7 separate regions of the Homo sapiens genome follow, and regions 1, 2, 3, 4, 5 and 7 are each linked to region 6. Evidence: promoter capture Hi-C in 16 types of primary human blood cells and fetal thymus (Javierre and others, 2016). All regions are on one chromosome and are shown on one strand. Each heading gives the region's core, a stretch centred on a gene start or on the middle of the fragment in contact. The rest is flanking DNA. Distances are from core to core; before and after follow the strand shown. Region 1 overlaps FBXW11 (F-box and WD repeat domain containing 11). Region 2 overlaps LOC105377725 (a long non-coding RNA gene). Region 3 overlaps FBXW11 (F-box and WD repeat domain containing 11). Region 4 overlaps SMIM23 (small integral membrane protein 23). Region 5 holds the start of LOC107986476 (a long non-coding RNA gene). Region 6 holds the start of FGF18 (fibroblast growth factor 18). Region 7 overlaps FBXW11 (F-box and WD repeat domain containing 11).

The links. Contacts are between HindIII fragments. The CHiCAGO score rates a contact against its expected background, and 5 or more counts as called.
Region 1: a contact is called between a fragment that was not itself captured here and the fragment with the promoter of FGF18 in region 6, in 16 of 17 cell types (megakaryocytes, endothelial precursors, M2 macrophages and 13 more). The highest score is 46.5, in megakaryocytes.
Region 2: a fragment that was not itself captured here is called in contact with the fragment with the promoter of FGF18 in region 6 in 1 of 17 cell types (endothelial precursors); the score reaches 5.1 in endothelial precursors.
Region 3: a fragment that was not itself captured here is called in contact with the fragment with the promoter of FGF18 in region 6 in 6 of 17 cell types (megakaryocytes, endothelial precursors, M1 macrophages and 3 more); the score reaches 19.0 in megakaryocytes.
Region 4: a contact is called between a fragment that was not itself captured here and the fragment with the promoter of FGF18 in region 6, in 1 of 17 cell types (erythroblasts). The highest score is 5.3, in erythroblasts.
Region 5: a fragment that was not itself captured here is called in contact with the fragment with the promoter of FGF18 in region 6 in 6 of 17 cell types (megakaryocytes, endothelial precursors, erythroblasts and 3 more); the score reaches 38.6 in megakaryocytes.
Region 7: a contact is called between a fragment that was not itself captured here and the fragment with the promoter of FGF18 in region 6, in 6 of 17 cell types (M2 macrophages, M1 macrophages, megakaryocytes and 3 more). The highest score is 8.4, in M2 macrophages.

What each region holds. Positions count from the first base shown.
Region 1 is chr5:171,899,218-171,903,169 of GRCh38, reverse strand. FBXW11 (F-box and WD repeat domain containing 11) reads left to right here. Exons shown (of 14, transcript NM_001378974.1): 5 at 3,070-3,256. Among named protein-coding and RNA genes, the nearest start is that of FBXW11, 110 kb to the left of the region's middle. The HindIII fragment of the contact is 821 bases long and covers 1,350-2,170 here.
Region 2 is chr5:171,828,391-171,832,231 of GRCh38, reverse strand. The region is part of intron 1 of LOC105377725 (a long non-coding RNA gene); the gene reads left to right. Among named protein-coding and RNA genes, the nearest start is that of SMIM23, 44 kb to the right of the region's middle. The HindIII fragment of the contact is 9,856 bases long and covers 1-3,841 here.
Region 3 is chr5:171,865,676-171,869,642 of GRCh38, reverse strand. FBXW11 (F-box and WD repeat domain containing 11) reads left to right here. Exons shown (of 14, transcript NM_001378974.1): 13 at 847-1,033. The coding sequence ends at 1,008. Among named protein-coding and RNA genes, the nearest start is that of SMIM23, 82 kb to the right of the region's middle. The HindIII fragment of the contact is 6,340 bases long and covers 1-3,967 here.
Region 4 is chr5:171,789,411-171,793,236 of GRCh38, reverse strand. It overlaps SMIM23 (small integral membrane protein 23), which reads right to left. Exons shown (of 4, transcript NM_001289970.2): 2 at 2,956-3,007; 3 at 2,688-2,755; 4 at 2,101-2,442. The coding sequence ends at 2,149. Among named protein-coding and RNA genes, the nearest start is that of SMIM23, 5.5 kb to the right of the region's middle. The HindIII fragment of the contact is 1,495 bases long and covers 1,416-2,910 here.
Region 5 is chr5:171,847,533-171,851,555 of GRCh38, reverse strand. LOC107986476 (a long non-coding RNA gene) reads left to right here and starts at 3,438. Exons shown (of 3, transcript XR_007059052.1): 1 at 3,438-4,023. The HindIII fragment of the contact is 687 bases long and covers 1,387-2,073 here.
Region 6 is chr5:171,417,558-171,421,788 of GRCh38, reverse strand. It overlaps FGF18 (fibroblast growth factor 18), which reads right to left and starts at 2,142. Exons shown (of 5, transcript NM_003862.3): 1 at 1,558-2,142; 2 at 1,346-1,382. The coding sequence starts at 1,589. RefSeq lists silencers at 1,636-1,715, 1,776-1,825, 1,966-2,075, 2,196-2,305. The HindIII fragment of the contact is 2,658 bases long and covers 920-3,577 here.
Region 7 is chr5:171,916,058-171,920,232 of GRCh38, reverse strand. All of the region lies in intron 2 of FBXW11 (F-box and WD repeat domain containing 11), which reads left to right. Among named protein-coding and RNA genes, the nearest start is that of FBXW11, 88 kb to the left of the region's middle. The HindIII fragment of the contact is 3,007 bases long and covers 1-2,986 here.

The sequences.
Region 1 (3,952 bases), core at 511-3,010, 480 kb before region 6:
AGCCATGATTGTGCCACTGTACTCCAACTTGGGTGATAGAGTGAGTCCCTGTGAAACCTTTGAGAATGGTACCAAGAAGACCAAACTCCAAATAATGTTAAATTGTCCAAAATGTTGAAGTAAATTGAAAGAGTTGAAAACAAAATAATTAACTATTTGGAGCCAGATTATAAAGGATGAAGGGATAGTGTGCTTAGAATAGATAGTATAGTGATAATAGAAAGAAACAACATATTTTCACTCCCATTAACCTAATCCCACCATCCCCCCAACCCAAGAATAATGGCTTTAAAACAAAGGTTAGCAAAGTTGTGTTTGAGAAAGATGTGAAGATATTTAGCAATCACATAGCTCCTATAGACAAGTAGGCCTAAATACATTGTATGCCTGGATAGTGGCAAAACCTGTGGTTGTGATTTTTCAAATTGTAGAACATTGTGAAGCAATTGAAAATCAGTATGCAGAACTATTGGGTACAATTGTGCCCTGTACAGCTTGTACAGTTGCACATGGTAGTCTTGCATGATAGCACCAGAGATGATTGATGAGCAGACTTCCTGGTTTTAAGAACTGGAGAAGGTGTTTTTGGGGGATTTAGCTATTAAATTTGATGTTGTGCTTTAGCAGAATTCTTAGATGAGTTTCAAAGGCTAATCAGCCTCTGAAAAGATTGTGTATGGTTGTGTAAACCTAGAAGGATGTATACAGAATGTGAAAAGTGGTTCCCTTCTCTGGGAAATGGGGTTTAGGGATTTAAAAATTTTTGCTCATCTACACTTTATAAATTTTCTATAATGAACATGAACTAGATATGTTTAAAAGGGTTACCAAGCAGCTAGTGTCAACATGTAAGTGAAAAATTGCAATACAACTTTATGTAGTAAACCCCAGCACGGGAACATGAAAGCAGCCATACCCTCCTCACCTTATTTCCTTTTTGGATAAAGTTACCAGGCTAGTAGGTAGGTCTGAAGAATGATGTAAATAGATGGTAATATCATCATCTGCTGATTTTTCCAAATACCTCCGAGGACAGAATAGAGAGATATGGACTGGGCAATGGCACATATAGATGACTACAGACCGGATGTCGCAGTGTGGGTGCCCTGGGCATATTGATGCGGCATCAGTGCTAGCTTGGAGGGAAATATTATAATAATAGGTACTAATAGCTAGTGTCATGGGTGCTGTCCTTGGTTCTGACCCGTTTAACGTGTTTGCCAACATGGTTTAACATGTTTGCCTTAGTACTTTAGCCCATCATGCAGGTCTGGTGTGGAATACCCACTCTTCTGGGTGTGACAAAAATCAGAATTCTAGAGACTGAAATGGATGGGTCAGACAAAGCTTTGAAGGTGAATTATAGTAAGGATAAATATAAACCGCACAAAGCTGCCCCCCACCTTTCCAACTAGCTGTGCAAATAGAGCATTCGGGGAAATTGTTTCAATAGATGTTTTTGGGGGAGAGGCCTGGGATTTTATTCTAACTTACTGCCATCTTAGGCGTCTTCTGTGATATGACTATCAGATGAAGGCAGTGCAGCCTTTGACCACATTAACTGTAAATGACATGCAGGAAAGGACAGTGGTCCCAGTGTAGTCTTTATTCTTAGACCATAGCTTGGGTCTTTGATCTAGTCCAGAGTAAGAGAATTTTAGTATATGAAGGACCTGGAAATTATAACCAATGGTATAATAATAGTCATTCTTAGAATTGAAGGAACTTTAGTTTGTAAAGCATTTTTCATGCATCATCTCATTTTGATATTTTCAGAATCAAGTAGAGATTATCGTAATCTTATACAGATGAGGAAACTGACTCTGAAAGTTTAATAATTTACCTACATCTGGCCTTTCAACAACCAAGTTTAGTGCTATTATACTACTTCTAATTATTTTGAGAAAAGAGAACAGATATTAACCTTGTAGAGTGCTTGTCTATAAAATGTTTTCATAAAACTGTTGAATTTGATTCTGACAGACAGTGTAAGAAAGGATAGTTGTTACTGGTGATTACCATTTTGTATGTTAGGGCACAAAAATTCAAGGCACAGGGATGTTTCAGTGTTTGTTTCATGTCATAGAACTAGTAAGTGGTGAACCTGGGACTTGAAATGGGAATTTTCTGATGATAAGTTCTGTGTTCTCGTCCCTACACAGAATAAGCTTGGGGAGAAGCTTTATTTCTTGCAACTGTAGAAGACATACTTACCGCCACAGGATGGGAGTTTACAGGTGGCAACAGTGGTGGCCATGTTGATCATCTTCCCATTGTGAATGTCAGGCAGAGGCTGAAAGTGGTTTTCTTTGAGAGTATCCTTGTATCGTGGGAGGTTGAAGCCAATGACCTCTAAGATTCTAGGATTTGTAGACATGGGGCTATTGCTTTTGAGGATTGTCCCATCTGTTTAGGAACAGAAAATGGATACTCACGAAAGGGAGATGAAAAGATTGACAAAAATACATTTAAGCACAATCGACTTTAATTCTTGGATTGCCATTTAACTTTTCATAAGTTTTTCAAGATGAGTCGGTGTTTTGCCTTTTTTGTCTTCTGATCTCCCAGGGATTCACACCGGGTATGGATTAATGGGGATATGATTTGTTATGAGAGACAGTGAGTAAGATGGGAATGAACACAAACTTTGAAGCAAGAAATCCGAGTTCCAGTAGTAAAGCCAAGGGAGTGTAAAATCTTGAGTTCTTTACCTTTCTGTGCTTCATCTGTCAAACTTGGGGCGTCATTGCCCTATAGGAGTGCTGTGAGAGTTATATAAAAGAAAATGAAAAGTCTTATCTTAATATTTGACAAATAACAGAACTGTCCAAGGTCAGCTTTTACACACAGAGAAGAGTTGCTATCAATTGTTTTATCGTAAAAAATCAGAACCAAAAAGAAGTGTATATGTTTATGTACTCATGGATTTGAGTATCTGTAGAACTTTTGATATGACTAAAATATTTTACTTGGTTCAGGATTTCTTTATTCCTCTTATCTTTAAGGAAATGATGGCTGGTACCTTTCTATCTCTCTTCCCGTTCCTTCATTCCCTTTTCTGTTTTGTAGAGCAAGGCTTAGATCACATAGCAGAAAACATTCTTTCGTACCTGGATGCCAGGTCTCTGTGTGCAGCAGAGCTGGTATGTAAAGAATGGCAGCGAGTGATCTCAGAAGGAATGCTTTGGAAGAAGCTGATTGAACGAATGGTACGCACTGATCCCCTATGGAAAGGACTTTCAGAAAGAAGAGGGTGGTAAGTACTTGGGTTGCTTGTTCCCTTGAAAAAATTTTATTGACATAGAGTCAGCTTGATTACTCAAAAATGCAATTATACTTGCAAATGTGCTGGCCTATTTTTAAAAAGGGGGGAAAATGAGTGGTCAAAAGTTGGAAGAAAAAGTTAAAGCTGTTAAAATTTCTCCCTCTGAAATGTGTATTTCCTTTATGAACTGTATTATATAGTTTGATGGGATTTGGCGTTTCAAAGCTATGTATTTATGTTTTTTCCTTCACATTTTGCTTAGTTGATGATACCATTACCAAAATATAGATATGACAAAAATATGAGAAAGTCAGATAGTGCCATTTTGCTGTTTGTTATTACTGCTGGTTGAGGAAGTAATAACAGTGATAGGATTTTTCAGAGAAAACTCATAACTCTGATGCAGCTTTATAGCTAGCTGTATGCTGTATGGCCCAGTTAGCAAAGAGAGAGAGCTACAGACAGAGGTGCATATAGGGCTGTATTTTCCTTACGGGAGGAAGTTTGATGTGTACTAAGTTAGATTTTTCACAAAGCTACATTAGCGCTTTTTATTAAACTCTATGGAATGAAAGGCTAGATTGTTACATATTAGTACTCAGAAAACACGATCAGGATTTTGTTAGAGAGCTGTGAATTGAGCTAAACTTGTCTGTAACATGTAAATTTGTCAGAAATCCTGCTTTT
Region 2 (3,841 bases), core at 1,000-3,499, 410 kb before region 6:
CAGGAACAGAAAACCAAATACTGCATGTTCTCACTTGTAAGTGGAGTTAAACAATGGGACTCATGGACATAAAGGTGTCAACAGTAGACACTAGGGACTACTACAGTGGGAGGAAAGAAGGAAAGGATTGAAAAACTAACTATTGGGTACTATGCTCAGTACCTGGGTGATGGGATCAATTGCACCCCAAACCTCAGCATCACACAATAAACCCAGGTAACAAACCTACTCATGTACCCTTTGAATCTAACATAAAAGTTAAAGTTATTTTTAAAAAATACATTGTGGAGCATTCATACTATGGGAAACTATGTAGCTGGTAAAGAGAATGAGGAAGATCTATGTATTAGTTCATTTCCACACTGCTGAAAAAGACATACCTGAGACTGGGCAATTTACAAAAGAAAAAGGTTTATTGAACTTACAGTTCCACATGGCTGGGGAGGCCTCACAATCATGGTGGAAGGCAAGGAGGAGCACGTCACATCTTACATAGACGGCAGCAGGCAAAGAGAGAGCTTGTGCAAAGAAACTGCAGTTGTTAAAACCAACAGATCTCATGAGACCCATTCGCTATCATGAGGACAGCACAGGAAAGACCTGCCCCCATGATTCAGTCATCTCTTACTGGGTCCCTCCCACAACATGTGGGAATTATGGGAGCTACAAGATGAGATTTGGGTGGGACATAGAGCCAAACCATATCAATCTACAAGTATGGTATGGAAATATCTCCAAAACATGTTACTGAGTAAGAAGAGCAAGTTGCAGAGTTATACCCTTAGCATGATACCATTTAGGTAACTCCCAACAATATTACATATCTTCTTTCTCTCTATCTCTCTCTCTGTGTGTGTGTATAGGTATGTATGTATTCAAATGCATGAGAAAAGGTCTGGAAAGGTGCACACTAAACTGATAACAGGAGATGAGGGGAGGGTAAAAGACTAGAGTTGAAGGGTGAAGGAGTCTTCAACTTTGTATGTAATATTTTTGTTATTTTTGAAAGAAAAATGTTAATTGCCTTACTTATGTCATCTGAAACTATTTCTTTTAAAAACCTTCCCTGGAAGCCTTGTCCAGCAATTTTCCTTAGATTGTATTGGCCAGAACTGGGTAATATGGCCACCCTTGGCAGCAGAGGTGTCTGGGAAGGTGAATATTTTAACTTTGCTGCCAAGAAAATTAAGGAAGAAGGTTATGAATGGCTTTTAGGTGGCCGATTAAAAATGTCTGCCATAGTTCACCCTTTTAGTTACCCAACATCCACTTGCTTTTATTTCTATACATATACTTTATGTACAGTCCAAAGTCCAAAGGCAGTTACTGCATCCATCTTGAAACTCAGGATCTCTGAGTAATAATGTGCAGTCCACTCATCAGGACAAGATGTGGGAGGATACTTCCTGCTTATTACCTTAGCTACAGCTGAAAGATATTGGGGTTGCTGTCTTTTCTGGGGACTGCACATTTCTTCTTGGTAGAAGTTTGATCCCCAAGGATTATTTTTAGAGTTGAACAGTCACAGGCTATCATAGATTGTTTGGAAATATACATTCCTCAAAAATGTAATAGAGATCCAGTCTTTGGTTTCAGAGACTTCCATATGTAAGTAACCACAAAAGATTTTATCTAGACAGAGTAGGTAAGCCTAAATGGTTTTTTTTTTTTAACCCATTGTCTCTCTCTGTGCCCTATCCAGCCCTTTAGCCCTTGGTTTATTGGCTGATTCTTCAGGGCAATTTAAAATAGCAACCTTGGGTGGAGAAACATCTCCTTTAATTTGATCTTTGTGTGTTGGTGCTCCCTCTTTATTTGGCAGGAAACTCTTAAGGGAAGGTACTAGACAACAGCTTTGGCACTGATATAATTTCCTGCTAACACTGTGGCTTTATGGCTGTTGTTTGTGCTGTTACTTGAGCTTTTTCAACCCACCAGACTTCAAATTATGGGATTCTCAGTCAATTTAGATTAGAGGTTGTAGTCAGATAGTGCCTCCCTTAGCAAAGCTGTATCTTTTCCACTGGCTTGAAGAAGACTGGCTAGCTCTTGTTGGCAATCATCTCTCTTGTAGGACTCTGTTAAAATAGTAAGAAGTGGCCAGCATGGATTAATACTCTGGAATTTTCAATAATTTCTTTGTACTCCATATCCCTAATAGATATAATGTCTTAAGGCAGAGCAGGCAGCACTTTGACCAAATGTTTGCAACTGCATAAGAATGTTCATCAGCTTCTGTCAGTAATAATCAGATCCTTCTTCTGCCATATTTTAGGTTCTGTTACTTTCATTACCCTACTCCTTGTACCAATTAAAAAATTTTTTTTAATCAGAGAAGACTTTTAGTTGTGCATGATAGAAACTGACTCTGACTTAATAAGCAGAAAAAGAGCTTAATGAAAGAATAGCAATAATGTAGAATTGTTGCAAAGGCAGAAGAATCAGGCTCAAGGCTAAGTTTCCAGAAATAATATTCCTAAAAATGCTGGAGAACTGATCTGTTGAGAAAACTGTGGCCATTGCTACTACCAAGCACTAAATTCTGTATCTCACAATGCTGTCAGGAACTCAACTTCAGTGCAATGAATACTGCTGCCAGCACTGATGTTATTTCTGTTCTAGTAATTTCACTTTTAAACTACTACCAACACCCTCACAACCAGATGTTTCTGGTGCTACCTTCTCTAGCAACTTGGATTTTGAGAAGAGCCTCCTTTTCCATGTTCTTACATTATATTCAAAGTCTACATGAATACATCTTGTTGGTGGCACCTAGAATAGACTAGCGGCTAGGTGCAAAGGGGGCTAGAGAAATAAGTTTTCTGAATTCTACCTTAGAGAGAAAAGATTCATAAGGCTGAAAATTCCATAAACATATTAAGAATGTTCAGCAAAGAACACGACAAATCTACACATCAGCTTTATTCACAGGCTGTACGTGGTGTCTGCAAAAGTTTCAGGCTCTTCTTTTATGGTGACAAGAGGGCTGAGAAGCTCCAAACTCACATCAAGTTCAATCCCAATGGAAAAAAGTAAGAGTTTCCCCCTTACCTCCACAAAACTTTTGAGATTCACTTTAATTGGACTGGTGAGGTCAAGCACTCATCCCTGAACTAGTTCAAATGGCCCAAAGCATGATGTGCCTTATGGGCCAGGATTGGGTTATGTGTTCTACCCCTGAAACAGGGATTTTTATCCAGAACTCATGGCCTGAGAAAGGAGGGGAGAACCACAAACAAATATTGGGAAATGGGGAATGGATTCTGATAAAGAAACAAATAAAGAAGAGTTAATGTCTTCCATTCTATATAGAGAGCAGGTCATTTTGCCCATGTCTTCTAAAACTTCCTCTGAACAATTTTTTCAGTACAAGAAATATCATTGATTGATTGGATTTATGGGTTCCTATCTTATTCGACAGGTTACAATCAGTTGCTATCCTCATTTATTTGATAATAAAATTGTCCCAGATTTGGGCAGTGAGAGCCCCTTCACCTTGAATTCTGTATCTTTTTAGATGAGTCCCTATCTTTCTCTAAGCACTACTTTATGTTTTGGTAAAAGATAAATCTTAACTTTTTCTGGGCCAGCCCTGGAATCAGTCCTCATTGAGTCTGTGATTTTATTTTACCCTACCTACAAGCTAATAAGAGACTATTAGTATTTCATGGATGTTGGCAGAATACATGAGACTCCTGAGTCCAAGGCAAAGGACTTTATTACTTATGACACAGGAAGTAACATGAGCAATAGCATAATTCATTGGTTTTTCTGCACCCCAGTCTAGGGGAGCAACGTGATATGACCTGGATGGATGTCATGTGTGGAGTGTGTTTGCATG
Region 3 (3,967 bases), core at 226-2,725, 450 kb before region 6:
CGCTTGTGTGTCTCACAAGATGCCTTCAGAGAATTTCAGTCTTCATTTTGTTTAGCCAAAACCAGAGAATATTTGATGTTTACATTACTGTGAGCACTTTCCTAAGGGGAGACATAATGCAGCTTAAGATATGAAGGCAGGCTTCCTGATTTGTAGGTGGACTGGTTTCCTCATAGGGCAAGCAATATTTCCTTCTTGTAGGTTTGGAAGATTTCTTAATATGGCTATTTGTGGTTATGTTTTAATAACAGCACATTTTTATACTATATATAAATTTTTATACCATTTATAAGTACTGTTATATTTTTGAAGAGATAGTCATTTGGAAATATTGGTAGATTTAAAAAAGATTTTAGTAGTTTTATTTCTGTTTCTTCACTTCTTGCATTTACTAGAAGATGCAGAACTGTCTTCTTGATTTTAATGGGAACTCTTATATTATTATTTCACCATGAATTTTGATGCTGGCAGCAATTTGAGGTAGATCCTGGTCATGTTAAAACAAACTGTCTTTCTGGTTCTAGGTTTTCCAGTGGATTTTTAGAGTGTATCAAGAATGGGTATTATGTATTGTTGTTTACTTTTATAAGGCCCTTTTTGAGATGATCTTTGAAATATTGGTAGACTAGAGTCTAAGATACAAAGTTTAATGAAAGAAAAGGCCTAGCAGGAAAAGAAAGAAGAACATTTGTTCTTGGGATGAAGGACACAGTTCAGTGAGCTCTGTACAGTCGTTTAGGAAGTCTGTTTAAGTGGCTGCATTTTCATCTTCTGCCCAGTTTCTCATTGTGAGATATCAGGGGCTGTAAAGATCTCATTTTATTCATGAAGTTTTGTATTTCATAGGAACATTCTGGACGTGTGTTTCGGCTCCAGTTTGATGAGTTTCAGATCATCAGCAGCTCCCATGATGACACTATTTTGATTTGGGATTTCTTAAATGTGCCTCCCAGTGCCCAGAATGAGACCCGTTCTCCCTCCAGAACATACACTTACATCTCTAGATAACAGTCTGCACTTTCACCCGTTTCAGGTGAGTACTATCCTCTCCCCTTCCAATTTTGCTGATTGAATTCACCTTCCCTTTGGGGAAATTTTGTGATTTGGGTTCCTTGGTGATGTGTGAACCAAGGTCTCTCTTAGACGTGTCAACTTTTGCAGAGTTCAAGTGTAAGGCTGGATCTTTATAGTCACATCCATACAAGGCTTGAGTTGGAATCCTGCCTATTGTGTGGGTTTTCATCTTGGCAGATGATGAACATGGTTCCTGTTTTTAAAAACTGTTCCTAAATGATTTCTTAGGTCATAATCAATTTAACACCAGTAAAATGTCTTGAATTTTATTTTGGGGTACAAGAATCTTCTTTTTCTCTTTCTTTCCTGTCCTTCAGTTCTTTTATTAAAAAAAAAAAAAAAATCACCATCTGACAAAACATTCAAAATCCCTCTCTTCCCCACTACCACAATCCACCCACCACCATCCTTTCCTCAAGGATGAATCAGAGAAGAGTATCTGTTGAGAGACCCCTAAAACCTATTCTGCTTCCATGAAACACAACAGATACACTGAGAAGCAAAGTCCTTTCCTCTGGTTACAGGAACACTGAAAGTCATTATAACCATTGATGACAGAATGTTTTGATTATTACTAAGCGTGTTCAGTCTGGAAGATGAGAAGTCTTACTTGGCTGTGTCCTAGGAACTGATGACTTAGGAACAGTATTGACAACTCTGTGTTCTGCTGAGGGCCAGTGAATTCTATACACATTAAACTTTGTAGATTGAATAAATGTTTACATATAAACATACTACTATGGATATATGTATATAAAGACTGTTGTGATTAATAAAATTTGTATTTATTTAAAATCGTTACTTAATTCTTAGTGGTCTTTTATCATTACATATTTTCCTGTTCATTGAATTTCAAAAGTATAAGAAAGTCCATGTGCAGAATTAGGAATTTTTTTGATGGAGAGATTGAGAACTCTTGGTACCTATTCACTAAGTTACCATCTTTTCAGATACTCTTTCATCAAGATTCCAAGATCCAATAAATAGAACTCCACCAGGAAGTTTGTCTTACCTAGAGGTCAAGAAACTATATAACCAGGGGCCAAAATTAACTCACTACCCGTTTTTTTTTTTTTTAATTAGTCTCTGCTTATCCATTAAGTTTTTTTTTTTCCTGTCTCCACAGGCTAAGAATAGTTTTTACATTTTTAAATGCTTAAAAAAATTAAAAGAATTTTTTTCATGACATGCAGTAATTAAATGAAATTTAAATTGCAGTGTTCATAAATAAACATTTGTGCTACACAGCCATGCTCATTCCTTTATGTATTGTCTGTGGCTGTTTTTGTGCTTCAGTGGCAGAGCTTAGTAGTTGCAACAGAGACCTTATGGCCTACAACATCTGAAATATTTACCATATGGCCCTTTCAGAAAAAGTTGGCTGACTTCTGGTCTTGCCCCTGCTCCATCTATTAGCGGTAAACCAAGGGTCTACATCAGGAATGGCAAATAAGTGTTTTCTTCATGCCAACTCAGTTTGGTCAGTAGTGACTGGTGGGTGTGTTGCCTTTGGAAGGATTCTGGGACCCCACGTGGACCCCAAAGGACTGGTTGTGGTTGGTTATGTCTGCCTTGCAGGAGTGACCTGTAAGCCACTTACCTATTTGCTATTATGGGTCTCGAGTGTGTTCAGACTGTTCCTGATCATAATCTTCTGCCCTGCTGCTTTCTTTCTGGATAGATGCTTCATAAGTCAGTTGAAAAATCCACGTGGCAGAATTACTGTAATTATTGAATGGAGCTTTAAAATAGGAATTACAGAGGAAGGAGACAAGGATCTCTTGAGTGATTGCTCCTCCCCCTGACCTCCCCTCCCAATAAGCCTAAGAAAATATAGGGAAGGAGGAATGGACCCAAGTAAAAACTGCTTAAAGAGGCATATGGCAAAATTCAAGACATCCATATTATGGTTTTCTTTTTCTGGTGTATTACAATAGATGAACTGACAACATCTATATATTACCTAAAAGTGCCCTGAACAAGATTCCTTTGGTTGAGAGATGAAGCAGTGATCACCAATGCTGTTTCTTATTGGCTGTGGTAGAAAGGAAACTTGTGTTACTTCCTCCAGGCCCTCCCTCCTACCTACCTTTTTTGGAAACCTCAGAACAACTGCCTAGTTGTGATCAATTATAAGTCAATGGAAAAATCTTATCTGCTTAAGCTGGAGGTTCCCTGTATCCCAGCACAAGCAGTGAGACCACAAATGTGTTTGTCTCTTCAATTTTATTACTTTTAACAACCTTGGCAGTCAACTTTATAGATTTTACTGCTCTTTTCTAATTTTTTTTTTTTTTTCCCTTTGAGACAATGTCTTGCTCTGTCACCCAGGCTGGAGTGCAGTGGTGCAATTTTGGCTCACTGCAACCTCCGCCTCCCAGGCTCGGGTGATCCTCTTGCCTCAGCCTTGCAAGTAGCTGGGGCTACAGGCATGTGCCATCACACCCAGCTGATTTTTGTATTTTTAATGGAGATGGGGTTTCACCATGTTGGCCAGGCTGGTCTCGAACTCCTGACCTCAATTGATCTGCCCGCCTCAGACTCCTGAAGTGCTGGGAATAAAGGAGTGAGCCACCGCGTGCGGCCCCAAATGCTTTTCATTTATTGTAACATGAAAAAAATTATAGCCATGTGATACCATAAGATTTATGCATAATAAGAAACACTACCCTAATGATGATTTAACCTTGCAGTAAAATACTCACCCGTAAAATATCAGGTGAGAGTCTCTCCATGTCAGCAAATGCAGCAGTAGATCTATCTGCGGAGTCGTTTTTAAAAAAATTAGTAACATCTAAGAGCTGTATGTTGTATTATATATTCAGTAGCTCAAAATTTATTGTTTTTTCTTACTACAAGACAATATAAGATCGTTATTAGGAAATTTGAAAAA
Region 4 (3,826 bases), core at 914-3,413, 370 kb before region 6:
ATGGCAATTGATTAATCCCTCCTGGCAAACAAATTGCTGTGCCATCCCCTGTAAGTCAGATGTCCTCTGAGATTAGTGTAATTGAAACCCTCATCACTATCCAAAGATTTGAGGTGGTTCTAATAATTGGTACATGTATAATAGCTCCATCAGAATAGAAAACAAAAAAGTCATAGAAAGGGGAAAATAAATAACCCAAAACAATGAGGCTGATAAAATTCCAGTAACAAACAACTATAAGTTTCCTGGAGGTAATAGGAAAAAGGGGAAGTCCTAGATAAAAAATGATCATTGTTTAATCAAAATAAAGTAATCAAAAGAGAAGGGTTTTCTTTTGGGACTGTTTTTAAAAATTAATTCAATCATAATTTCATCATAATGATACTGTTATTTTTGCTTATATACATATATTCCAGTTCTTGTCTGCATGCAAAATAGAAATTTGTTTTTAAAAAATATTTGAATAAGCAAAACATTCACATAGTTTGAAAACAAGAAAGTATGAAAAATATATGCTGAAAAGTTTCCTCCCATCCTTGTTACACATCTCCCAGTTTCAAATCCCCTCACTCCCAGGCAGGCTTGTATCCTTCTAGAGTTTTTATGCATATTTAATAACGTCATTATCATCATCAATATCAACAACAAAATATATATTTTTATCTTCTGCTCCCTTTTTGCACCTTAATTTTTTTTTTTTTTTTGAGACGGAGTCTCACTCTGTCACCTAGGCTGGAATGCAGTGGCACAATCTCAGCTCATTGCAGCCCCTGCCTCCTGGGTTCAAGCAATTCTCCTGCCTCAGCCTCCCTAGTAATTGGGATTACAGGTGCATGCCACCATGCTGGGCTAATTTTTTGTAATTTTGGTAGAGACGGGGTTTCACCATGTTGGCCAGGCTGGTCTCGAACTCCTGACCTCAAGTGATTCGCCTGTCTTGGACTCCCAAAGTGCTGGGATTACAGGTGTGAGCCACTGTGCCTGGCCTATACCTTAATTTTTTTCACTTAACTACATATCTTTCAGGCTTTCCCATTTTAGCAGAAGGAAAGTATCAGTCCATGTGGGCAGTTAAAATACCTTAGACTGCATAATTTGTAAATATAGACATTTATTACTCACAGTTCTGGAGGCTTGGAAGTCCAAGATCAAGGCACCAGCAGATTCAGTGTCTGGTGAGCACTTATTCCTCATAAAAGGGAACTTCTAGCTGTGTCCTCACATGGTGGAAGGGGCAAACAGGCTCCTCAAGCCTCTATTATTAATATAATGGCACTAATCTCACTAATGAGGGGAGAATCCTCATGACCTAATCACCTCCGAAAGGCTCCAGCTCTTAACACTGTCACATTGAGTATTAGGTTCCAATATATGCATTTTGGGGGTCACCCATATTCACACCATAGTAGAAAGCTTCCTCATTCTCTTTTATAGCTACATGATTGTTCATTGTCTGGCTGTACCATAACTTATATAACCAGAGCCCTCCTGGTATCATTTGGGTTGCTTCCATTTTTTTGCTACTGCAAATAAAGCTGGGGTGAATAATCTTATACACATGTAATTTCATGTGTGGGCAAATGCAGCTGTGGGATAAATTCCTTGAAGCAGATTGTTGGGTCAAAGAGAAAATGCATTTGTAAATTTGATAGCTATCACCAAATAGAGATTTTAGGAACGTATACTTCCACCAGCAGAGTCAGAGGGTTGAATGCCGCATAATAGCCACACACTTAGCCAGAGCTAGTATCCTCTTACCACACTCCAGGGAGGAAGGAAAAGGCATGTGAGAAAGGAAGAGCTATTTATCCGATACCTGCTCTGTGCCAGACGCACTCTGTATACACACCCTACATACATTGTCTTCCTATAAGGCAAAGTGTGTTTCCCCGATTTTTATATGTGAGGAAACTGAGTCTCAGGTTAAGGAAATTTACACAACGTCTCAAGAAAGTAGAAGAGTCCTGAACCTATGGCTGGCTCTGAAGCCCGTGTTTGTTCCAGGGGGCCACGTCATGGTGCCAGGGAGAATATCTCAGCCGGGCTCTGGTGTTCCGCCAACGCTGTTTCTGTCAGCATTCATGAATGTGAACAGCGGACTTCATTTCCCAACTACTTTATTTTCTTGCCTGACTGGAACTTCAAGAGTCAGAGCTCTGCCCCGCTTAGAGAAATCTCTAGCAACCCCTCCCCACCTTTGTGCTCTCTCCCCAGGGCCCAGGCCCACTCCCACAAGTGACTTTTATATGTGGAGCAGTGCTCCTCCTGGTGTGGCTCTCCCAGAAGAGCATCCAGCCACAGTTCCAGGTCCCACGCTAGCTGCTCCAGCTGCTGCACCTCTTCCTCTAACTTCTCCGAGAAGACATGCAACTTCTCCTTCAGCCAGTTCCTGATGGTCTTTATCGGTTCTTCTGAGGGCTCGTTGGTCTGATATTCAAGCCCCTGGAAGGCAGACACAGAAGTGGCATCCTGTGCTTTCTCAGATAGGACCCTCCTCCCCATCCCCACTGGTTTCAAAAAGATCCCTGGGCCTTTGCACATGCTACTCATTGTGCTCGTAGTACCTGTTCCCACCTTCTGCACTTGACAAGCGACTACTTATCTTTCATGACCCATGTTGCCAATGACACCTCCTCTGGAAAGCCTTCCCAGATTGCCTCACCTCAGTACCTTGCTGGACATGTTACCTGGGGAACTGCAAGATTCTGGTAGTAGTTACATTCTCTGATCCTTTCTGACACCTCCCAACTGCTTCCTGAAACAGGCACAAACATCACCTCTGAAGAGCAAATGAGCACTAATTGAAATAAACATGGTTAGTTATCCCAGTGTGATGAAGGGTCAGTGGGAGAAGGTGGGTTATGGAGGTCCCCTTAACATACAACCATCTTTGGAACACTCCACCAAGCTTCATGTGGATTTGGTTCCTTCTTTCTCAGATTCCAGAATGCTCACCCCATATCTCTGTGCTCAAGTACAGCACCAAGATCAGCAATGCCAACAGCGTCTAGGGTGCAAGAAGAGGAAGAGGAGGAAGAACATGAGGATGAATTCTCTCCAGGTCCCCCTGCTTCCATCACAAAGGGCCAGACATGGGAATGCTTATAAGACAGTTTTTTGAGTTTAACTTTTGTTCTAGTTATCTAAGTCACACTTACTTACTACAAAACTCCCAAACTTTGAAGAAATAGATAACACTGCAACTTACTGATGTTCAATTTGCATTTTCTCTCATGTAAACATTTTTCATTTTAATTGATCTTGAAAAGGAATCAACTTCATTGTGGTATAATTTACATATAATAAAACGCACACATTTAAAATGTATAGTCTGATGAGTCTGATGAGTATTGATGAATGTCTATACCTGTAGACTATCACCCCAATCAAGATGTAGAGCATTTCCGTCATCTTAGAAAGTTTCCTTTTGCAGTCAATTCCATCCTCACTCCTGCCCTGCCTGGAGAGAACCATTAATCTGTTTTCTGTCACTGTGAGTAGTTTTGCCTGTTCCATAACCTTGTATAAGTGGAATTACACAGTGTGTGTGCTTTTGCATTTAGTTTCTTTTGCTTAAGACAATGTTTTCGAAATGCCTCTATTTTTTTGTGCTCAATTTTATTGATGAGTATATTGTGTATTTTATTGATGAGTATTTATTTTATATGAACATAGAATATTGCACAATCAGTCTCTTTACCTGTTGATGGACTTTTGGCTTGTTTCCAGTTTGGGGCTATTATGAATAAAAGTGCTATGAACACTCATATACAATTCCTTATGTGAACATATGTTCACATTTCTCTTGGGTTAATATTCAGAAATG
Region 5 (4,023 bases), core at 481-2,980, 430 kb before region 6:
AGTGGAATATTAATTAAGTATTATAGTGCAAAGGGATTCTGAGATCAAGTGAGTTTGGGAAATAGCAAGTTAAAGAAAAGGAAGCAGGTTTATTTGCTGAGGGACTTATCAGAGCCTTTCATGTGTTCATGGATGTTGTTACCATCCACAAAGGTAACAGGGGCTTTCGTGTTTCCCACACCTTTTTGACCTTGAAATCATTATTTTTTCCCCTTTGAGTATCTCACAGGACTAGTGTTCTGAGGAGCAGTACACTGAGAAATGGTCCTCTAGACAGAGAGGAAATGCTGTCTTCCCCCTTTATTGGCTATGTGGGATTCGTATAATTTGCTTATTTGTCGGATCCATTATTGCTGGGTGTGGGAGAGCAGGCATGTGTTAGACTGTCCATCTTCAGAGAGGTTTCCTGCTCTTCCTGTTCGTCCAGTAGTTATGGGCTGTGATTGTTATGGTGATAGCAGGGAGGCTGCAGACCCCAGAGGGGATTAGGCATATCTGTGTGTAAACTTTGGGCAATGTCTTTCTTTCAACTGGGCTTGAATCACAGCATTGCATACCCTAAGAAAACATCATGAGGTATATAAAGTTCCCATACTCCCATTAAGTGGCCTGGTTTTCGTCTTTAAGTATGGTGGGGCTGGTAGGAGTAGAACACGGGATGATGTATCACTTCTCCTGGGTTTCTCAACCTCAGCACGACTGACATTTGGATGGGATCATTGTTTGTGGGGTCTGTCCTGTGCCTTGTAGGATATTTGGCGGCATCCCTGGCTTCTACCCACTAGATGTCAGTAGCACGTATCATCCCTCCTGCCTCCCCATTGTGACAACCCAAAATGTAGGCAGACATTGCCAAGTGTCCTCTAGGGGACAAAATCCCTCTCCCATTGAGAACCACTGCTTTAAGAGAAGATTACCCAAAGTCTGTGCAAGGCTTTTGGAATACTCTTGGAAGGATTTTTATCATACTCTTGGAAGAAGGAAGTAGTGCTATCATGCTCAAAGCATGGTCTGAGAGCCTATAAGACGTGCCAGCTAATGAAACTCTCCCCTGGGGTGTTTTCGTAACTCATCCTTAAGGCTCGTATATCTGTTGAGTTTCTTGGTTGCAAGTTACAGAAAACCCAATCCAAAATGGTCTAAGCCAGAAAATGAATTTTTTGGCTGTGGTAACTGAAGAGTCCGACACAGTGCTAACTTTAGGCACAGCTGGATCCAGGTGCTTAAGCAGTGTTATCAAGAAACAAGAATTTTTCCAAATCTTTGCTCTGATTTCCTCATTATTGATATCATTCTCAGACAGGCTCTTCCCATGTGGCAGTGAGAAAGCTGCCAGCAGCTCCGGCCTACTCCTCACTAGAACAGATCTGGTGGAAAGGGAAAGCTTCTCTTCCCTCATGGTTTGAATGCAAGTCCTGGATCTGATTCCCATTGGCCTGGGATACTACGCTATTCTCATTAGCTGTGCCGGGTTCACACGCCTGTCCCTGGAGCCTGGGGAGGAGCCAACACCAACGGAACCATTTGGTGGGGAACAGGAGAGGAATGGTTCTTTAGAGGCAAACGGGGCAGTTACTTGAAGAGAGGTCAGCGGATGCTGGTCAGACAAGCACCTCTATTGCCTCATTCATAAAAATAACTAAACGACAGCCAATAACGGCAGCTCCCACTTGTCGAACATGAATTCTGTACCAGACCCTACCTATACTGCGTGATCGCTAATCACCACCAGCATCCTGAGAGGCAGCTGTTGTCAACCTATTTTACAGATGGGTAAGTGGAGTCTCAGAGGCAGATGAAATGACTTGGCTGAAGTCACAGAGTGGGGCAGTGGCTGAGCCACAGACCGGAGGCATCCTTTTACCTCCTCTAGGACACCCTCTGTAACTGACTTTCTTCCTGCTGCAATCCAAAAGGTCTCCCAAGGTCGCCTGTTGCTATTTTGGAAAGAGGTGGACAGATACTGGAGGGCCACTCTTCAGGCCACTGCCCAATCTTTTCTTGTCAATTTGATGTCAGCTTGTGCCAATCATCCCTGAAGGGCCATTCTGACACAGCAAGTAAGGGAAAGCTTGGCCGGCGTTTTCTGGTTTGGCTCTGTTCTGCCTGCTTGGTCCATTTTCCTCACCTCCGTTTTTGCCCGTTGCCGCTGTTTTTATCTTCCATCCCCCCAGGGAGCCTGCAGAGGGTGCATTAGTAATAAAGCTAACATTTCCAGAGAGAGAGAGAGATATCAAGGAATTTCCATGACATGATTTCATGAAGTTTTCTCAAATATCATATCAAGTAGACACTACTATTATCCCCATTTTACAGATGGAGCAACTGAGGCCTGGAGAGGCTAGAGGACTTGCCCAAGGTTGCCCAGCCAGCAGATGGGAGAACTGGTGTTTGAATCCAGGCAGGACCCATTGCTTTTATTACGGTACCAAAACTTCAGAAAATTGCAAACCAGTGGCCTGTGAGTCAAATCTGGCTAACAGATATATTTTGCTTGGCCCACATAGTATTTCAAAACCCATTTGAACTCATTGCCAATGTTTAAAAATTGAGAACCTGCACATCAAAAAACAAAATTTGTTCTTTTCTGCTTCTCTTGAAAAAAAAAAAATCAGAGAAGATTGGCACCACTGGGCCTACATTCCTGCCTGGCAGAGACCGGCTGGAGCTGCAGCTCAGTCCCAGGTGCCTGCTTTGGGTGGGGTGTGTTCCTCCAGCTGGATGCAGTCCCCACCACTCCCTAATACCTTCCCAGTGCTGAGGCCGGTGTCATTTGCTGTGGCTCACTGTGTGTGCTCTGCGGTGTCCCTTGCGCCCCTCCTGGCTTACCTGCCTGGCTCTGGAGGGCACATGGGCTTGCTGCTCCTCCCCCACATGCAGGAGCTCCCGCCAGCCTCTGACCACAGTGGTTTGGGGTTGCTGTAATCTCTCTCCACACATTCAGTGGAACGGTCTTCTGCTGGTGAAGGTCTGACTTAGGCACTAGAAGAGTTGGACAGAGCCCCAAATTTTCCTTTCCTCCAGTACCCCAATCCCACCCCCTCCCACACTTTGGTTTATTGGTCAGCAAAGGCCACTTTCTTGGCAGTGTTTGTCTTGGGTACACAACCACTTTTTCTTGCTCCCCGCAGAGCCCCCTAACGTTTTCTTCCTAATCCTCCTCAGGAGAACCATCACTCGGATTATCATGAAACCCGAGCGTGTGCGCATGAGGTGCGACCCTTTACAACCGGCGGACCATCTCGTTTCTGCCCAGTTCTGTTTGTTTAAACTCTTTGCTGGCAGGACCCCAGCGCAGGGGCAGAGTTCCATGGCGTTCACAGGCAGATGTTCTGGCCTGTTGCAGGGACCAACGTTAAAAGCCGGGGCAGGAGAGCTGGTGGCCGGAATCCAGGCCCTGGGGGCGGAGGGCACTTCACGGAGGAAGGAGAGGGAGTTCAGGGAGGGAGTTCAGGGAGGAGAGGGATTGGGGATGAAAACAACAGCTCACTGTCCTTTTGCAAATGGAATTTACAGGCCCCATTTCATGCATGAGAACACTGAGGCTTAGAGAGGTGGGGTTACTTGAACAAGGTCACAAGGCTGGTTAAAGTAGGGAAAATAAATGAAATATTTTACAGTTCATGGCATAAGAATACGCCAGTTTCAGGCATGTAGATGATGATGATGGTGGTGGTGGAGATAATGATAATGATGATGACAGGAACTGAAGGGCACAATTAAGGCCTTAAAGATCTCCTGGATGTGGTCACTGTAACCTGTCAAGGCATGACCTGGAATCTTTTACAGCATGGCTTCTCTCCTAGAATCACAGAGTGGCCAAGAGTGAGGACGTTGACACTACACAGACCTGGGGCAGACCCGGCCCTGCTGCTGAGTGGTTGACTGGCCCCAGGTGAGTTCTGTAACTTCCATGAGCCTCAGGGTCCTCATCTGCAAGATGGGAGGAAAGAGGAGATCACAGGAATTTTGTGAGGAATAAATAAAAGAATGTATAGAAAGCACAGAGCCTGTGTCTGGCAT
Region 6 (4,231 bases), core at 893-3,392:
CCAGCCTGGCCAACAGGAGGAAAGAACCCATCAGTCCGTCCACCCTTCCATCCCCAAGCCCCAATGGATGCCCCCAGCTCAGTGCCTATCAGGAGGGTAACAACCCTCTCCTGGGCGTGGAAGGAAGATAGCAGGCCCACCACCGCCAAACACTGCGAGTGGCTGTTGAGTCGCGCAGTGCTCAAGGCACACAACACTCCTTGAGCCAGAAAACCGGGAGAACCACCAATTTCCTGTGCTCAAGGCTAGCTCTGGGGATCTCCACAATCCAGAAGGCTAAGGTCTAAGAATCTTCTCTAATCCCGGAAAGCCACCTGCCTTCCACCGAGGGGGAAGGGTCAGACAACCCTCTTTTGACCTGTGTCCAGTTCCTCCTGGCCTGGCCCCTTGCAGCACTAGGTGGGTGGGGGCTTGGGGAGCTGACGCTTCCTATTCCCTTTGCCCGCCGCCCCCCGACCCCCACCATGCAGAGGCAGCCCTGGTCTGGTTCTAATCGGGGCTGAAGTCGGCTCCCTTTTTCGCTCTTCTCTCTCCCTCCCCCCAACCCTTTTTCCTTCATTTCTACGGCTTTGGAAGCCAGAGCGTTCCAACTGTCTGCGTGCCAAGACCTTCCCGAGTCTGAAAGCTGCTGAAGTAACAGATCAGATTTTAGCAAGTGCTTTCCAGGCCGAGCGCCAAGCCCTCTTCTGATTCACGGAGAGCGAGCGAACCGGGAGCAGGCGGGGAACCAACGAGGGCTGCACCACCTTAGGCGAGGGAGTGCGGAGCGCGGCCCATCCGGGAGCGGCCTCGCGGGCAGCGGCCACTCGGCCTAGGCGCCCTCGAGCTTCCCCTCGTCCCGGGCATGTGTGTGTGTCTGTGTGTGTGTCTCAGTGCTGCAAGCGCCTTCAAAACCACAGAGTAATTTACAACTGAAGCTTTCTCCCTGGACTCGAAATCCACTCGGCTGAAAGTCTTTTTGTTTGGAAGCGGCGATGTTAAGGGAAGGTTGGCAGAGAAAATCCCTAGGTCCTACCCCTCGCTGGCTGCGGGCAGGGGTCTTAGAGCTGGGTATATTGTTGCGGCTGAGCCCGCCGGCTCTGCGGGATCTCCTCCCAGCCGAGGCCGACAGTGGCCGCGACAGCCAGCGCCTCCTCGGGCCCCGCGGCAGAGCCCCTTGCCCTTGGCCGGTTCCCCGCCGGCGCAGGGCGCACGCGGAGCCGCCCTTCCGCGCCCTGGGAACAGGTGCACTGGGCTCAGCGCCCAGGAGGGGTGGGGCACAGGGAGGGGGCGCGGCCGGGGAAGGGGGGTCGGCGTGTACCGCGAGGCAGGGGCGGGAGGAGGTCAAAGTCAGGAGCCCACGTACCTGTACCTGGAAGCACAGCAGCAGGAAGTGTAAACACCTGCGGGAAACAGATGGAGAAGCGGTCAGTGGGACCTGAGGAAGGGGGCGCACGGACAGACAGACACGCAGTCGAAGAGTCAGGTGAACCGACGGGCGGGCAGACAGAGGTACAGGGCACAGGCATACGGACAGACAGCCAGGCAAGGTGGGCAGCCCCGCGCGCGGGCGCTTACAGGCAAGTGCAGGCGGAGGGCGCTGAATACATCGCTGGGCGGGAGGGAGGCGGCGGCTCCTAGCCCAGCCTGCACATGTCCGCTCCGCGCGGCCGGGACCGGGCGCCTCCGCCGCCGCCGCCGCCGCCGCCGCCGCTGCTGCTGCTCCCTCCTCGCCGGCTGCTGCTGCTGCAGACTCTGCTGCTCCGGGGCGCTCCGCGGCGCGCCCTGCGGCATCAGCGCCCCGCGCGGCTCCTCCCGAGCGCTGCGCCCTCCGGGCTGGCGCAGGGGCTGCGGGGCGGCAGCCGCTGTGCAGGAGGCGCCTGGCCGGTGCGGGGAAGCTCGCTCACTGCTGGCCGGCCGGCCGTCCGGGCGTCCGTGGGAGGCTGGCTGCCCGGCTCAGTCCGGGGACAGCATGCGCGGCGGGTCTGGAAGCCGAGTTGCGCTCTCCGGCCCGGGCGCGGAGCTGCGTGGGGCCAGGGGTCAGCGCTCCGGGGTCGGGGCGCGCGGCTGCAGCGCGAAAGCGTCACGGCCGCTCCGTCTGGGCGCCCGCCGGCTCATGTCTCCTCCTCCGCGTCTCTCCGGCCGTGCGCATCGCCGCCTCCCACCACTGGCGGCGGCCGGGGCGTTTTCTACGCGCGGGCGGCGAGGGGGCGGGGGGCCGGGGGCGGGCCCGGGCCCGAGCCGGCACAATGAGGATGCGGGGCCTGGGGGCTCCCCCCTCGGGGCGCGGCCGGACGGGCGCTCAGCTCGCCTGGGTGCGCCCAGCCCACATCAAAGGCGGCCCTGCCTGCTCGCCTGCCTGCCGCGGCCTCTCGCTGCCTCCTCCTCCTTCTCCTGGCGGCTCGGGGTTGGAGGGGAGGCGCTCAGACTCTCGGAGACGGGACCGGCAGCTCCAAAGGGGCAGGACCCGCGAGACTGAAGCTGGTGAGCGCTGGAAGCCGTCGGAGCTCTGCGCCCGAGCGCAGTGACCGCTCCTCCGCGCAAACGTTGCCCAAATTGGGCAGGCGATGCTCCCCAAGAACGCAGTTAGGTACGGAACGTCCTCACCTGCCCACATTCGCTACTCGCACTCACTCACCAGCGCTCTAGTGGAGAGCCGAGAGGGGCGGGTCAAACCCAGCCCCGGGGCGGCTCCACTGAATGGGGGTCGCTTTTACCCGCCCTGCGATCGTGGAGTTTCCCAGCCACCCTCTTGACTGGCTACCCACTTAAGTGAGCCCCCGTCCTCTTCTTACGTCCCTGCCGCTGCGAAGGGGGCTCCCGGGCATCTCTCCTTCCCACCCCTCGCCCCCTCCGGGGCTCTGGGGTCGGTTCACGGGATCCCAGCTGGACTCTCCCGTAGGCGAGCCAGCTTTGGAAACACACGGCTACCACCAAGCGGCCCCGAGACGTCACTGCAACCCCAGCACGGACGGCTGCACGCCGGGGAGCAGCCAGCAGGACTCTGGTCAGCGACCACGCTGAGGCCCTCTTCCGGCCTCCTCCCAAAACCGGACTAAGACTTGCCTCCGTTTGCATACTAGGCAGCTTCGTTCCTTTAACCAGGGCCCCATTCAGGACACTGGTTCTTACCGCCTCTGCCCCTTCCAGAGGCATAACTCCTGTCCTTCCCACCAACCCCAAAACGTAGGTGTTCTTGTCACGTACCTGCCTCACTGTCTAGAGCTGGTGTCAGCCAAGCTCTGCTTGAGCCTGATGCTAAGGAAAATAGGTCACAGTGAGAAAGACGCTGGAGGACAGGCTCAAGCAAAACTCAGGAATCTGGACTATTTGGTTAAAGCCTCCTTGCGTTGGCAATGGTTGATGGTCCACTGGAGCATAAACTGAGGTAGGACTGTCGAACAGTGCTATTTGCTGAAGCCATGACTATAAAACATTAGTAATTGTTCCAAATATCAGGCCTCCTTGCAAGCTATTTTAAGTTCCCTTTCAAAGCTGAGGCTATTTTAAACAGATAGCCTCTGTTTCAACATCGGACACAAGTGCAGAAAACCTTTTCAAAACCAGGTGCTGAGGGGGAAAATTCCTGCATGAAGCTTTTAAGCTGAATTTACTTAGACATTCTGATTGCCAGAGCTGGACTTGCAGAGTTACTCGTAACTTCCCAAGTTCTGGAGAAAATGAATCGATCCCAAGATAGGATGCAATGACCAACCATAAATAGAAATGGACAGAAATGCTCCCACCGATGACCCGAGTCATTGCCGCCGTCTTTGATCTTGCTTTATAGGAAGATTGACAAACCCAGTCGAGGAGTTTTTGGCTTACCATCTGCTAGTTTGAAGTATCTCCTGGCTAAGAATCATGCTTCCAATTTTCTATATTGTTACTATTTTTTATTACTTGTGAATGGAATGGGTATATAATTATTTATACCCTATCTAAAATGCTTGCAGTATTTTTCAATGCTCAAAGTATATTTGCCAATCTCACCTACCAAACAAATCAGACTGACCAAAAAGTCCAGCCAAGAGAACAGTTCTGAGTAAGAGCATAAACTCAGGAGTCAGAAGTACTGCATTTGAATACTGCCACCAACATTTACTTATAAATTCCAGCAAGCAACGGTTTGAGATTCTGCTTCCTCCTCTACAAAATATGGCTAAGAACAGTAACAACTCTCACAGAGTTGTGAGTACTCAATGAGTGTCTGGCACACAATGAAAACTCCAAACGTTTTAGCTGCTAACTA
Region 7 (4,175 bases), core at 234-2,733, 500 kb before region 6:
CAGAATTCAGTTTATGAAGACAGAGTAACTGTGCCTGTGTTTTCTCTTCTTTTCTTTTTTTTTGTTTTTTGAGACAGAGTCTCGCTCTGTTGCCCAGACTGGAGTGCAGTGGTGCGATCTTCGCTCACTGCAACCTCTGCCTCCTGGGTTCAAGAGATTCTTCTGCCTCAGCCTCCCAAGTAGCAAGTAGCTGAGACTACAGGCATGTGCCACCATGCCTGGCTAATTTTTGTATTTTTAGTAGAGATGGGGTTTCACCATGTTGGCCAGGATGGTCTCGAACTCCTGGCTTCAAGTGATCCGCCCACTTCAGCCTCCCAAAGTGCTGGGATTACAGGCATGAGCCACTGCGCCCAGCCTGTGTTTTCTTTGTGATGGTGGGAAGAGTGTCTTTGAAACAAGATTAGGATCTTCATTGTGCTGCAAATAGCTATAATATATATGCAGTCTAACTGGGAAGGTAGTGTCTTACAGAGTCTAGCTTTGAATCTTGGTACTTTTTGATGTGTAACCCAAGGCAAGTTGTGTAACATTTCTGAGCTATGGTTCCCCCAATGTGTAAAACAGGATATAGGTGCTATCATACAAGGTCATCATTAAAGGTAATTTATATAAAGTTTCTATCACAATGCCTGACCATCATAGGCAATCATTAAATAACAATTATTTTCTCTATTCTTCTTTGGAGCTACTTGATAAGGTATATAGTTGGTCATGTTTTTAATATCCAGTGAATGACTGGTTTCATAATTTTTCCTTGTAAAAGACACCCAGGAACAGGCGTTAGAGTATTGTGGTATTTGGTAGTTATGAAATATCACATATTGGGATGGAGTCTGTCATGATACCATCAGTGCAGCTTCCTTACTTAGGTTGGTGCTACCACATGGGCTGCATCATTTTGCCATAGCAATGATTTTTGAGCAGAGATAGATCAGAATTACTTGGAGAACTTGAAAGGAAAACGTATGCCTAGGCTCCATCTGCTCCATGATCAGCTGTATATATATGGCTTCCTGTTATTTATAGTCCTCATTCATGCCCCAAGTCCATGGACCTCTAGTAAAGAACCACTGATAACCATGGTTTTCCAAATATGAATTTAATGGCAAGCAGGACGTAGCCCTGAATTTAGATATCAACATACTTCGTGAATTACCCTACCATGGCGAGGTCAGGATGTATGTGAATAGCATCACAGACTGTCACACGGGCCAAGGAAAGATGGCTAAGGAGAAAGAAGGGCCAGGCCTGAGATGGTAGTGCCTTAGTATATTCTCCCACGGTGTCAAGTTTAGGAGCCCACATCCCTAGAGCACTGGTTTTCAAGTGGAGAGAGTGATTTAGCCCCCTTCCCTGGGACATTTGGCGATCTGGAGACATTTTTGATTCTCACAGTTCAGAGGGTGTGGAATGCTCCTGGCACAGGCACTGGCCAAGGATGCTGCTAACCTTCTATAATGCACACAGCAGCCCCACAACAAAGAAATATCCATCTCAAAATGGTAATAGTACTAAAATTGATCTGCCTGAGAGTCTAGCTTCTTCTTCCTAGGTTATATCTTTGATTGGTAGTAGTATCAGAATAATAGGAGGGTCTGCATTGTAATCTATTTACGTGTGATGCTCCTTGGTAGACATAAGAGGAAGGAAATGATGAGAAGGGTAGAAAGTAAACTGGTTGGTATTTCAAATAACTTTTCCTTCTCATAAGTGTTGGAGACTTAAAGAGGATTTCAACTCTCAGATTGGCCATGGTTTCACATGAGAGTTTGGATATAGGAAATGACCTTTCTTTTCTCTTGGGAAGCTCATTGTTTTTTCTTACCTCACCCTTGAACCTGTGACCTTTTGTCTCTTGCCTTTAAGGAATAAAATTCAAAGTGATTAAAAAAATTATAGCTTCCATAAGAGAATTTTCTATTTTTGCCATCACCACTTATTCCTGCGACCCTGTGTACGGATTGAGTATCCCTTATCTGCTTGGGACCAAAAGTGTTTCTGATTTTGGAAATGTACAGATTTTAGAATATCTGTATTATACTTTTGGAATTAGGATTTTTGCATGTGGGATGCTCAACCTGTAGCAGGCTGAGAAAGATGATGGGGAATAGGAGAGGACTGTATTGTATTTAACAAAGTGGGTGTTTCCTTTGTCTCCCAAAAGTATTTGGTGAAGAGAGAGGAAGGAATTACGCCAGGCTGTTGCTCTAGTCCAGTGTTTGCCAATATGTGCTGAGCTATTATTAATAGATATTATTATAAAATGGGGGCTGTCCATGTCCAACAAACTTGGGAAAGTTGGATTAAATGAATTTAACCTAATTTTAAAATAATAGTATATTATAGAACCTTTTGTATCTTAATGGAGTGTATTGTAACTTCTGAGAGACATATATATAAAATATATCTCTGAATTGAATATATATATTTACACACACACACACACACACACACACACACACAGAGTGAGTCTAGAGTGCAAGGATGTGTATAGCATTTCTCTAATTTCTAAACCTAATTAGACTCTTGGATGCTTTTTTCTCCAGACATCTTTTGCATTGCCTGGAATCCTCTGGATCCTCTGGTCAGTGTAACTTGAGAGCAGCATTTTCCCTTTGGTGTCTTCTGAAACCTTTATAAAAGAAGTGGAAAAGTATGTAGGATGGGAGAACTATTGCAGCCCCCATGGTTTTATTAAAAACAATTTTATTAAATTGTATGTCTAGCCTTCTTTATGAAGCCTTAAGGCAATAGCTGCTATTTTCTTCAGGGGGTTGTTTCCTTATCAACCATATAAGTAAACATCATTTCTCTGTTTTGGAATAAATGAAGAGTGAAATTTTCTCACTGTGAAGAGTTGTTTCATGTATAGTGTACAGGGAAGTCTGACATTTCTTGTGTTTCCATCTTAAGTAAAGAAAATATTAAGGTGGTTTAGGTCACAATAGCTCTGGAGGATTCTGGCTCCTATATTTCAAAAGCTTTTAGTTTAAAACATATATACATCTCTTGGCTGGGTGCAGTGGCTCATGCCTGTAATCCCAACACTGTGGGAGGCTGAGGCGGGCAGATCACGAGTTCAAGAGATCGAGACCATCCTGGCCAACATGGTGAAACCCTGTCTCTACTAAAAATACAAAAATTAGCTGGGCATGGTGGTGTGTGCCCGTAGTCCCAGCTACTTGGGAGGCTGAGGCGGGAGAATCGCTTGAAGCCGGGAGGTGGAAGTTGCAGTGATTTGAGATCACACCGTTGCACTCCAGCCTGGCGACAGAGCAAGACTCCGTATTTAAAAAACAAAACAAAACAAAAAAACCCCACAAAAAACAGAAAACAAAACAAAACCATATATACATCCCTCATATGTTTCCTCTGCAGTACCTGGAGACATGGGGTGGGGACTGACTTCCCATCTCTCTTCCACTTAATTCCTCATTCCTTTCCGTGCTCCACCTTTCATGTTTCCAGCCATTTGTTCTCCTTACCACTCTTAGAACCCAGACATTGTGGCCTTGCAAGACGGCTTTGTAACTACCAAACTCAGGGGATGCTGTACTGAGTCACTGCTCCCCCTTTCTTTATTCCCCTGAGGAAACCTGCTTGCTTTAAACTCTTAGGTCCCTTCAAGATAGCAATGAAAAGATTACATGGAGAGACCTCCATAAATACTACCTTTGTTTCCTTGTTCTTCATCCCATTCAGAATTACTTACTGCTTTCACCACTCCAGTCCTGTTTTGGACTCTTGGACACACTGCCTTCCTCTCTAGCTCATGGTTGATTTTCACATAGAGCCCCACCCTCCTGTCCCTCTCCCTCATTGTGGACCTTGATGCTGTGGGGTTTATAAGATTTTACTGAGAAAGTCAGGTTTTCCCCATAGGCGGCCATCTGGAGCATCCTGTCAAAATCTCTGAAATTAGAAAAGCATAAGAAGATAACACAGGGGAAAAGTAGCATCTTTTTTTTTTTTTTTCTCATTTTTTTTTTAAATTATACTTTAAGTTCTAGGGTACATGTGCACAATGTGCAGGTTTGTTACATATGTATACATGTGCCATGTTGGTATGCTCCACCCATTAACTCGTCATTTACATTAGGTATATCTCCTAATGCTATCCCCCCACCTCCCCCCACCCCACGACAGGCCCCAGTGTGTGATGTTCCCCTTCC